2 separate regions of the Homo sapiens genome follow, and region 2 is linked to region 1. The links are contacts of gene promoters, found by promoter capture Hi-C in blood cells and fetal thymus (Javierre and others, 2016). All regions are on one chromosome and are shown on one strand. The core of a region is centred on a gene start or on the middle of the fragment in contact, and the rest is flanking DNA. Distances in the headings are between cores, read along the strand shown. Region 1 holds the start of CDK7 (cyclin dependent kinase 7). Region 2 overlaps OCLN (occludin).

Evidence for each region. The method cuts DNA at HindIII sites, captures the fragments that hold promoters and counts their contacts. A CHiCAGO score of 5 or more calls a contact.
Region 2: a contact is called between a fragment that was not itself captured here and the fragment with the promoter of CDK7 in region 1, in 1 of 17 cell types (neutrophils). The highest score is 5.7, in neutrophils.

What each region holds. Positions count from the first base shown.
Region 1 is chr5:69,232,412-69,237,213 of GRCh38, reverse strand. CDK7 (cyclin dependent kinase 7) reads right to left here and starts at 2,328. Exons shown (of 12, transcript NM_001799.4): 1 at 2,173-2,328; 2 at 1,761-1,820. The coding sequence starts at 2,238. RefSeq lists enhancers at 1-366, 2,078-2,606. The HindIII fragment of the contact is 18,686 bases long and covers 1-2,899 here.
Region 2 is chr5:69,522,434-69,527,235 of GRCh38, reverse strand. All of the region lies in intron 4 of OCLN (occludin), which reads right to left. Among named protein-coding and RNA genes, the nearest start is that of SNORD13B-1, 14 kb to the left of the region's middle. The HindIII fragment of the contact is 5,716 bases long and covers 1-4,802 here.

The DNA.
Region 1 (4,802 bases), core at 1,079-3,578:
TGGAAGGATTACTTTAGTCCAGGAGTTGGTGGCTGCAGTGAGCTATGGCTGTGCCACTGCACTCTAACCCTTCCACCTGGGCGACAGAGTGAGACCTCCTCCTGCCCCGCCACCACAAAAGAAAGAAAGATGAAGAAAGATTCAGTAGAGTTAAGGGTTTTAAAGGGAGTGGCTGTAGTGGTGGATCATAAAACATAAACCAGAAAACACGGACATAAAAAAAGTAAAAAAGTTAAAAAAAAAAAAAAAAAAAAAAAAAGAAGGCCAGGCACAGTGGCTCACACCTGTAATCCCAGCATTTTGGGAGGCCGAAGTGGGTGGATCAACTGAGGTCAGGAGTTCGAGACCAGCCTGGCCGACATGGCGAAACCCTGTCTCTACTAAAAATACAAATATTAGCTGGGCGTGGTGGCAGGTTCCTGTAGTCCCAGCTACTGGAGAGGCTGAGACAGGAGAAGTGCTTGAACCCGGGAGGCAGAGGTTCCAGTGAGCCGAAATCGCACAATTGCACTCCAGCCTGGGCAACAAGCAAAATTCTGTCTCAAAAAAAATAAAAAATAAAATAAAATAAAAAATAAAAAAATTATGGCAGGAATAATTGAGAAGAAGTAGTCAGTCAGGTTTTAAATGAATGCAAGACAGTACTTGGAGGCTGGAAGATGACCAAAAAAAGGGGGAATTAATGTTAAATATGGATAACTTCCAAGGAGTTAGGGTTTTTGAAGCAGGAGAAGCAGATTCAAAGTAGCAACGGTAACAAAAGCAACATCAGGACACCTGGATTTAAATCCCAGCTTCAGCAATCACTAGCTGTGTGATCTTGACAAGTCACCTAGTCACTCAGTCTCAGGTACCTCAAGTATAAAATAGGGTTACTTTTAACCACTTTATAGATTGTTTTGAAGGTTAAAAGAAACAATGTAGGTGAACGTGAGTTATGTAATTATGACCCAAATCTTTTTTTTTTTTTTTTTAAGATGGAGTCTCCCTCTGTCACCAGGCTGGAGCACAGTGGCACCATCTCGGCTCATTACAACCTCCACCTCCCAGGTTCAAGTGATTCTCCTGCCTCAGCCTCCCGAGTAGCTGGGATTACAGACAGGTGCCACCACACCCAGCTAATATTTGTATTTTTAGTAGAGACAGGGTTTCACCATGTTGGCCAGGATGGTCTGGATCTCTTGACCCCAAGTGATCCGCCCACCTCGGCCTCCCAAAGTGCTGGGATTACAGGCGTGAGCCACCGCGGCTGGCCCGACCCAAGTCTTTTGAATGAATATAAGAAGCTACTGAATCCGACCCAGGTCTTTTGAATGAATATAAGAAGCTACTGAACTCATTTTAGACCTCACATCAATGTTGTTCATGCTAGTGAAAGTCTTTCATGGTAAATCCGTACACAGAAAATACAGATACGACACACTGAGTGGATGCAGGTGAGGTATAAACAGTGACCTAGAAAGATCATGGTATCCAATAGTTCTGAGGACCGAAAAGATGGGCAGTACTTGCCCACAACATATGAATTTATGCAGTAAAAATAACATACAGCTTCTTCTTCATTTCAATAGAAATTAAAACGGGTTCAACCCTAGAGTTCCGTTTGGGAACACAAAGCACTAATTAATTATTTTGTCTCTGAAAATGACATGAGTAACTCATTATCAGAGTATGGTCAAGACTAATAAAATGGCTATCAGTCAATTAATAATACAGACATCTTCAAGGAGACTTAAAAACAACATAAAAAGGTAACTCACTTTCTTAATGGCGACAATTTGGTTGGTGTTCTTATCTCTGGCCTTGTAAACGGTGGCAAACTAGAAAGAAAAATAGAAATAACATAAGTTTATGGGAGTTTTTGTGTTTGCCTTTTTGCATTTTTACATTTCGCGAAGCAAAGAGCCCAGAGTTCCTGAGCAGACTCGCGGCGGCTGGAAACGTGGCGGGTCAGTCTCCGTCCAGCTCCAGGCTACTCTTCAGCAAGGAGAGGCCCCTCAGGGATTCACCCCCAGGATGTAAAGAATGGGCAGCAAGTGCGTCTGGACGGTTTCCCCCAACGAGAACGAGCAGCCAAGCCAGACCTCTGGCCTCCACGGGAAAACCCGCAAAGGTGGAGGCGGCGCGGGGCTGTCCGCTTGGGGCCCTCCCCGTCCTTCCAGAGAGCCTCACCTGTCCCTCCCCAAGGAAGTCCAGCTTCTCATAACGCTTTGCCCGAGACTTCACGTCCAGAGCCATCCGGCGCCGTAAAGCCCGACTCCAGCCGAAAAGGGCGAGCTCCCAGGACAACACGAATTTAAAGCTACCTTAAAGCCTCCAACACCCACTTCCGTCCACCGGGCTCCGTCGCTTTAGTATCCCCGCCTCACTTCCGTGGTGGGCGGAGGAAGCTGCGCTAGGCCCAGGCGGTTGGCGTTCCCCACCCGTCACGTGACGCCTGTCGGTGCCTGAAGTGGGGCATCTTCAATGGCTGCTGTGTCACTCTGTTGCCGTTTTAACTTGGGTGTTTTCTACATTACCAGGAACTGGTCAGCGTTCTAATTTGGTGTTCCATGTTCGGGGTTTGGTAGGTGTCTGTGAATGTAGAAAGTTTGGCCTTGTACCTGTTCTCGCTTTTTGGTTCTTGCTCGAGCGCGTCCTGTCGCCGTGGTTGCTATGGACGCCAAACCCTGCTATCTCAGATTACTGAGACGAGTGCCAAGTTCTTACGGGCTGGTCAAGAGTATTCTTAGTCCAGTCCCTTTATGAAGAAGCAGGCCCAGGAAAACAAAATCCAACTCAACTGAAACGTGCTGTGGGAATCAGCTTCTAGTCCTCAGTTTTCTACTCGGTAAAATGGAAAAAATAATGAACTACATCACAGGAGATTGTGGGTATTAAATGAAACATGCAGAAAGCTTAGACATTAACTCAATTAATTGAGACAGTGCTCAATTAACTTAGCAGTAATGAGTACCCAACCCCTTGATTATCATAAATTGTCATAACAAACACACTAATTCATTTATTCAAAAACATATTGAGTGCTTTTCCTTTTTCATTTTTCTCTCTCTTAGGATGCTGATATTGAGTGTTATCTATGTGCCAAGCACCATTGTAGAATCTGAGATAGCAGGGAGCAAAGATCCCTGCCTTCCAATGGGAGGAGATAAAAAAACAAGTCAAATATGTGTTATGATACATAGGTGATAAGTGCTATAGAGATAATAAAGCAGATAAAGGATAACAAATCAGGGCAGGGGCAGGGATGGAGGTTTTAAATAGGGTGGTACAAGAAAGTCATCACTGAAAACCCACTGGAGGGATTGGAGCAGACAAGTGATATGACCTGACTCACTTTTAAAAGGTTCACTCTTGCTGTTGGGAGACTATATTATAGATTTTGAGGGACAAGAAAAAGAAAGAAGGCCTATTAGAGAACTATTGCAGTAATCCAGATGGCTCTACTAGTGGATAATTAAAAGTTTCTGAGCCAGAGCAGCTGTCAACATGGAAATGTGCCCCCCTCCCCCTGCCTTTGTTTGTTTGTTTGTTTTTGAGACAGTCTCACTCTGTTGCTCAGGCTGGAGTACGCTGGCCCGATCTGAGCTCACTGCAACCTCTGCCTCCTGGGTTCAAGCGATTCTCCTGCCTCAGCTTCCCGATTAGCTGGGATTACTGGCCTGCTCCACCACACCCAGCTAATTTTTGTATTTTTAGTAGAGACGGGGTTTCACCTTGTTGGCCAGGCTGGTCTCAATCTCCTGACCTCAGGTGATCCACCCTCCTCGGCCTCCCAAAGTGCTGGTATTTGTAAGTGTAAGCCACTGCGCCCAGCCTATATTTGTTATTTCTAAGAGTTGAAAATCCTAAGTTTCAGAGATATGTTGAAGAAAGTAGCAAAATACCAAGGCCAATAATTTAGTTATTTTTTTTAACTCTGGAATCAGACTGCTTGCATTTGAATAGTGGCCCTATCAGTATTCAGCCACTAGATACAACTAGGGCAAATTACTTACTTTGTTTCCAGTTTCTTCATCCCTAATAGGATCTACTCAAAGGATTGTTCCAAGGCTTAAATGACCTCACACCTGCAAAGCCCTTAGAATAATGTTTGACAGTTAAGTGTTTACTATATGTTAGCCATTATCTTTCAGTCCCTTGTCATTACTTGGGTCTAGGCAAAACTCACACATTGCAGAAAAGACACCATCTCTCTTGAGGCAAGTCATACCTAGTGATGCTGTTGTCATAGTTTCTTCTGACAGGTATCATTGAAATAATAATTTAACCTCACTTGTAGAAATAAGCTAGTGAGCGGCAGGTGCAGTGGCTCACACCTGTAATCCAGCACTTTGGGATGCCGAGGCAGGTGGATCACCTTAAGTCAGGAGTTCCAAACCAGCCTGGCCAACATGGTGAAACCCCATCTCCACTAAAAATACAAAAATTAGTTGGGTGTGGTGGCAGGCACCTGTAATCCCAGCTACTAGGGAGGCTGAGGCAGAAGAATCACTTGAACCCGCGAGGCGGAGGTTGCAGTGAGCAGAGATAGCACCATTGGACTCCAGCCTGGGCAACAAGAGTGAAAACTCCGTCAAAAGAAAGAAAGAAGGGAAGAAAGGAAGAAAAGAGAGAGAGAGAAGCTAGTGAGCTAAATCTGATGATGCCGTTGTGAGACTTGAGGTCCCCAAGTGTGCCATGGCGTATGAGTTGATAATCAGTGTATTACAGCGTGCTGCTGACAAGTAAATTCCCATTCTGGGACATTTAAAATAGGATAATGAAGACAGCGTTTAGATGATATTCTGAGACAGTGAGAT
Region 2 (4,802 bases), core at 704-3,203, 290 kb before region 1:
GCACTGTGTCGGCTCACTGCAACCACCGTCTCCTGGGTTCAAGCAATTCCCCTGCCTCAGCCTCCTGAGTAGCTGGGATTGCAGGCGCCCACCACCACACCCAGCTAATTTTTATATTTTTAGAAGAGAAGGAGTTTCACCATGTTGGCCAGCTTGTCTCGAACTCCTGACCTCAGGTGATCCGCCCGCCTCGGCCTCCCAAAGTGCTAGGATTACAGGTGTGAGCCACCGCGCCTGGCCCCTGCTTCACCTTTTGATGTACAGGGCCTAATTGTAATACATTTAAATGTTAAGTCTCCACCCCAAAGTGAACATGGGATGTATGTAACACGAATGTTTGTTCATTACGCATGCATCAGGACCCCATTCACGGATATTCATAGCTCCTCCTATAACCTGTTGAATAGGAATGTATGGCCAACCTGTTCAGCATTAAGCTCTTGTCCCAACTCCATCTCCTTCTAAGTGCCTTTCAGTGTCTGCCAGAAGCTACGCTTCCAAGACTGTCAAGGATGGCCACCTTACAGGTTGTAACCCTTTATAATAAATAGTCTCCTTTCTACTTTTTTCTTTCACAGCTGGAGATCCTTTCTAAATTTATAATTGTGTCAATCTTTAGGTTGACACCACCAAAGGTAAATTCTGAAATTCCCTGAGAGTCAATAAGTTATTAGAGCTCTGGAAGGGGATGAGGTAGAAAAACCTTGTACTCAGTGAGGCTTACCAATGATCTCATTCAAGGCCCCTTACTTAAACAAAAATCCCTGTGAAGACTGTTAAATATACCTGTACCTCATGCCAGAGTTTTTCAACAGGTGTGCCAGGATGTCTTTGGTCGCCCAGCCTGTGAGCCAATCATCTGCAGTTCCAGATCCCCCTCAGTTTACTCCAGTATTTTGTACTAAGTCACCATTTTCCAAGTATGCCATGATGTAATGATAACTTGCTTACAGTTTAATGGTTGCAGCTTGAATCTATAAAATAGTGGTTCTCGAAATATGGTCTCCAGACCAGCTACATTAATATTACCGACCTAGGCCCCAGCCAGGCCTAGCGCACACATCATAAACTCCAGGGTGGGAGTGAGTGGGCTGTTTCAATGAGCCCTCCAGGTGATTCTGTTGCCTGCAAAAGTTTGAGAACTACTGACGTAGACACAATTCTCTTCTATGTTGCAGACCACTGTACCTCGTAAAGACCTACAAGTTAAGGGTCTCTTTTGCCTACAGTGATGCTCAAACCTGACAGTGCCTGGTTTTCTGGTCCAGGTGTCATAAAATAACCTAGAAAAACGGTGAGAAGGTTCACTCGGCATGAGAACAGCTGAGGGTACCTACTTTTATCACAGTGGAAACATTAGTTGATTCTCAGCCCTGAGAAGGACCTCTATCATACCATCAACACAATGGAAAAGGGAAGGAACACATCTTTCCCTAAAGGAGAGAAGGCACTTTGGCTTGTCATATCTATAAAGGGTTAGTCATTTGTGAAAAGGACACTAATGATCACGCAATAGACTATACTTCCTCAGGACTATGCCTCATAAAAAGTTGACCTTTACCCCATAAAAACTCTTATAAAAATCAAGAGTATCAGAGAAACTGGTTGAGTTTTGCCACCTCAGCAATTGCCAAAAGGTAAAAAGTAGAAGAGAAAACACATTAGGCCAATAAACATGACATGTTCAGAAGAAATATAAACCAAGACAACACTGATACACTTTTACACGTTTGACTGGAAAATATTATAAAGTCTAACACCACCAAGAGTTGCTGGTTTAGATTATATATGAAAAATAATTTGACATTGTCTTATAGAAATGTACACTCACAGGCCAGGCACGGTGGCTCACGCCTGTAATCCCAGCACTTTGGGAGGCTGAGGCGGGCGGATCATGAGGTCAGGAGATCGAGACCATCCTGGCTAACATGGCGAAACCCCGTCTAGACTAAAAATACAAAAAATTAGCTGGGTGTGGTGGCGGGCACCTGTAGTCCCAGCTACTCAGGAGGCTGAGGCAGGAGAATGGCGTCAACCCGGGAGGTGGAGCTCGCAGTGAGCCGAGATCGCACCACTGCACTCCAGCCTGGGTGACAGAGCGAGACCCTGTCTCAAAAAAAAAAAGAAAAGAAAAGAAAGAAATGTACACTCACAAACGCTGCATCCCAGAAGTTCCACTCTTAGGTACATAGCCAAGAGAAATGTTCACAAGTATAGGTGATTTAAAAATGTTCATGGGGCCAGGCGGGATTCACGGGATTACACTCACACCTGTAATCCCAGAACTTTGGGAGGCCAAGGCAGGTGGATCACTTGAGGTCAGGAGTTTGAGACCAGCCTGGCCAACATGGCAAAACCCTGTCTCTACTAAAAATACAAAAATTAGCCAGGTGTGGTGGCATACGCCTATAATCCCAGCTACTTGGGAGGCTGAAGTGGGAAAATTGCTTGAACCCGGGAGGCGGAGGTTACAGTGAGCCAAGATCATGCCACTACATTCCAGCCCAGGCAACAGAGCAAGACACTATCTTAAAAATAAATAAATAAAAAATAAAAATGTTCATGGCAGTTGTAATGGTCTTAATAATCCAAAACCCCATTAAAAGGAAACTGGATAAACTGCTGTGAAATGTGATAAAATAGAGGACCAGACAATGGCGACATCAGATGGACTTCAACTCCATCAACATGTATTAATCTATAACCTAACTCTGCGTAAAAAGGCAAATGCCAAGACACTACATGCAGGTACACCTTCTACAAAGTTAAAAAACACCCAAAACAAAATCATGTTGCTAAGTTATACATGTATGCAGGTAAAAACTTAAAAAGCAAATTATAATAAACTCAAAATTCTAGATAGGCTACCTCTGGGGGCAGGTAGAAGCAAGTAGATGAGAGAGTAAAAAATGTATAATGTAACTTAGTAATGTATTGTAATTATTAGGTGGGATGGTAGATCTGCAGGTGTTCATTATGAAACAATAAATGTACCAGGAATGCTATGCATGGACTAAAGGTGATAATGTCATAAACTAAGAATTGAATTAATCTATTTCTGTGCACCTGAAGTCCAGTTTTTGTTTTTAGAGACAGAGTCTCACTTTGTCACCCAGCCTGAAGTGCAGTGGCACATCTCGGCTCACTGCAACCTCCACCTCCCAGGTTCAGGTGATTTCCCACCTCAGCCTCCAGAGTAGCTGGGACTACAGGCATGCGCCACCAGGCCCAGCTAATTTTTGTATTTTCAGTAGAGACAGGGTTTCACCATGTTGGCCAGGATGGTCTCAAACTCCTGACCTCAACTGATCTACGCACCTTGGTCTCCCAAAGTGCTGGGATTACAAGTGTCAGCCACTGTGCTCAGCCTTAAAGTCCAGTTTTTAAAAAGGTAATCATTGGCCGGGCACGGTGGCTTACACCTGTAACCCCAGCACTTTGGGAGGCTGAGGCGGGTGGATCACCTGAGGTCAGGAGTTTGAGACCAGCCTGGCCAACGTGGCAAAACCCCATGTCTACTAAAAATACAAAAATTAGCTGGGTGTGGTGACACATGCCTGTAATCCCAGCTACTTAGGAGGCTGAGGCAGGAGAATCGCTTGAACCCGGGAGGTGGAGGTTGCAGTGAGCCGAGATCATGCCACTGCACTCTAGCCTGTGTGACAGAGCAAGACTTCATCTCAAAAAATAATTAAAAAAAAAAAAAAAGGTAATCATTAAGGTTTTTCCTAAGAATCTACTGGCATGGAAATGCTCAGTTAGGGTTCTAATCCTGGCTTTGTCACCCATATGTGACCCCAGGCATGTGGATGAAAATGCTTTCTGTTAATATAAAACCAAATTTAACGTAAACATCAATTTTGTCTATTCTCTAAAAATATTATCATATACTGTTAGAAAATGGCTTAATAGCCCCCTTTTACACAATTATGCTGGCCAAAATGTGTTCAAAAAAGGAAGAATAATCAAAAGACTCAACTTTCACCAAAAATTGTAAAATTTCAGAAAACACAATTTCAGTATTATTCAAGTTGACCATTTGGGAACAAAATTAAGTTAGTGTTTATCTCATACTATAATAAAAAACAAGCATCTCAATATGAATAAAGTTATGACATTTGGTAAATAGTAAATATCAATATTGGTCCATTAGTGGTGACAAATGCACCACACTAATGTAGGATGTTAACAATAGGGACAACTAGCTGCACTGTGGGTAGTGGCTCACACCTGTAATCCCAGCAGTTTGGGAGGCCAAGGCAGGAGAACTGCATGAGTTCAGGAGTTCAAGAATAGCCTGGGCGACATAGCGAACTCTGTCTCTACTTTAAAAAAAAAAAAGTCAGCCAGGCATAGCGGCACATGTCTGTAGTCCCAGCTACTTGGGAGGCTGAGGTGGGAGGACTGCTTGAGCCCAGCAGTCAAGGCTGTAGTAAGCTATGATTGCGCCATTGCACTCCAGCCTGGGCAACAGAGTGAGACCTTGCCTCAAGAAAAAAAAAAATAAAAGGGAAAACTGAGTGCCGTGGTATACAGAAATCCATCATACTATAATTGCAACTTTTCTGTAAATCTATTAATAAAACTATTCTAAAATGAAACATTTATCTTAAAAAACAAGGGGGGTGGTCCAGTGTATATCCTGGATGTTAAAAACAAAAACAAAAACACAAAAACTGGATTGGGTGCACGACACTTCTAAGTTTGCTAAAAATCACTGTAAATTTTTAATGGGTGATGACAATGTATGGTATATAAATTGTACCTCAATAAAGCTGTTTAAAAAAATATGTTTCTGGTGG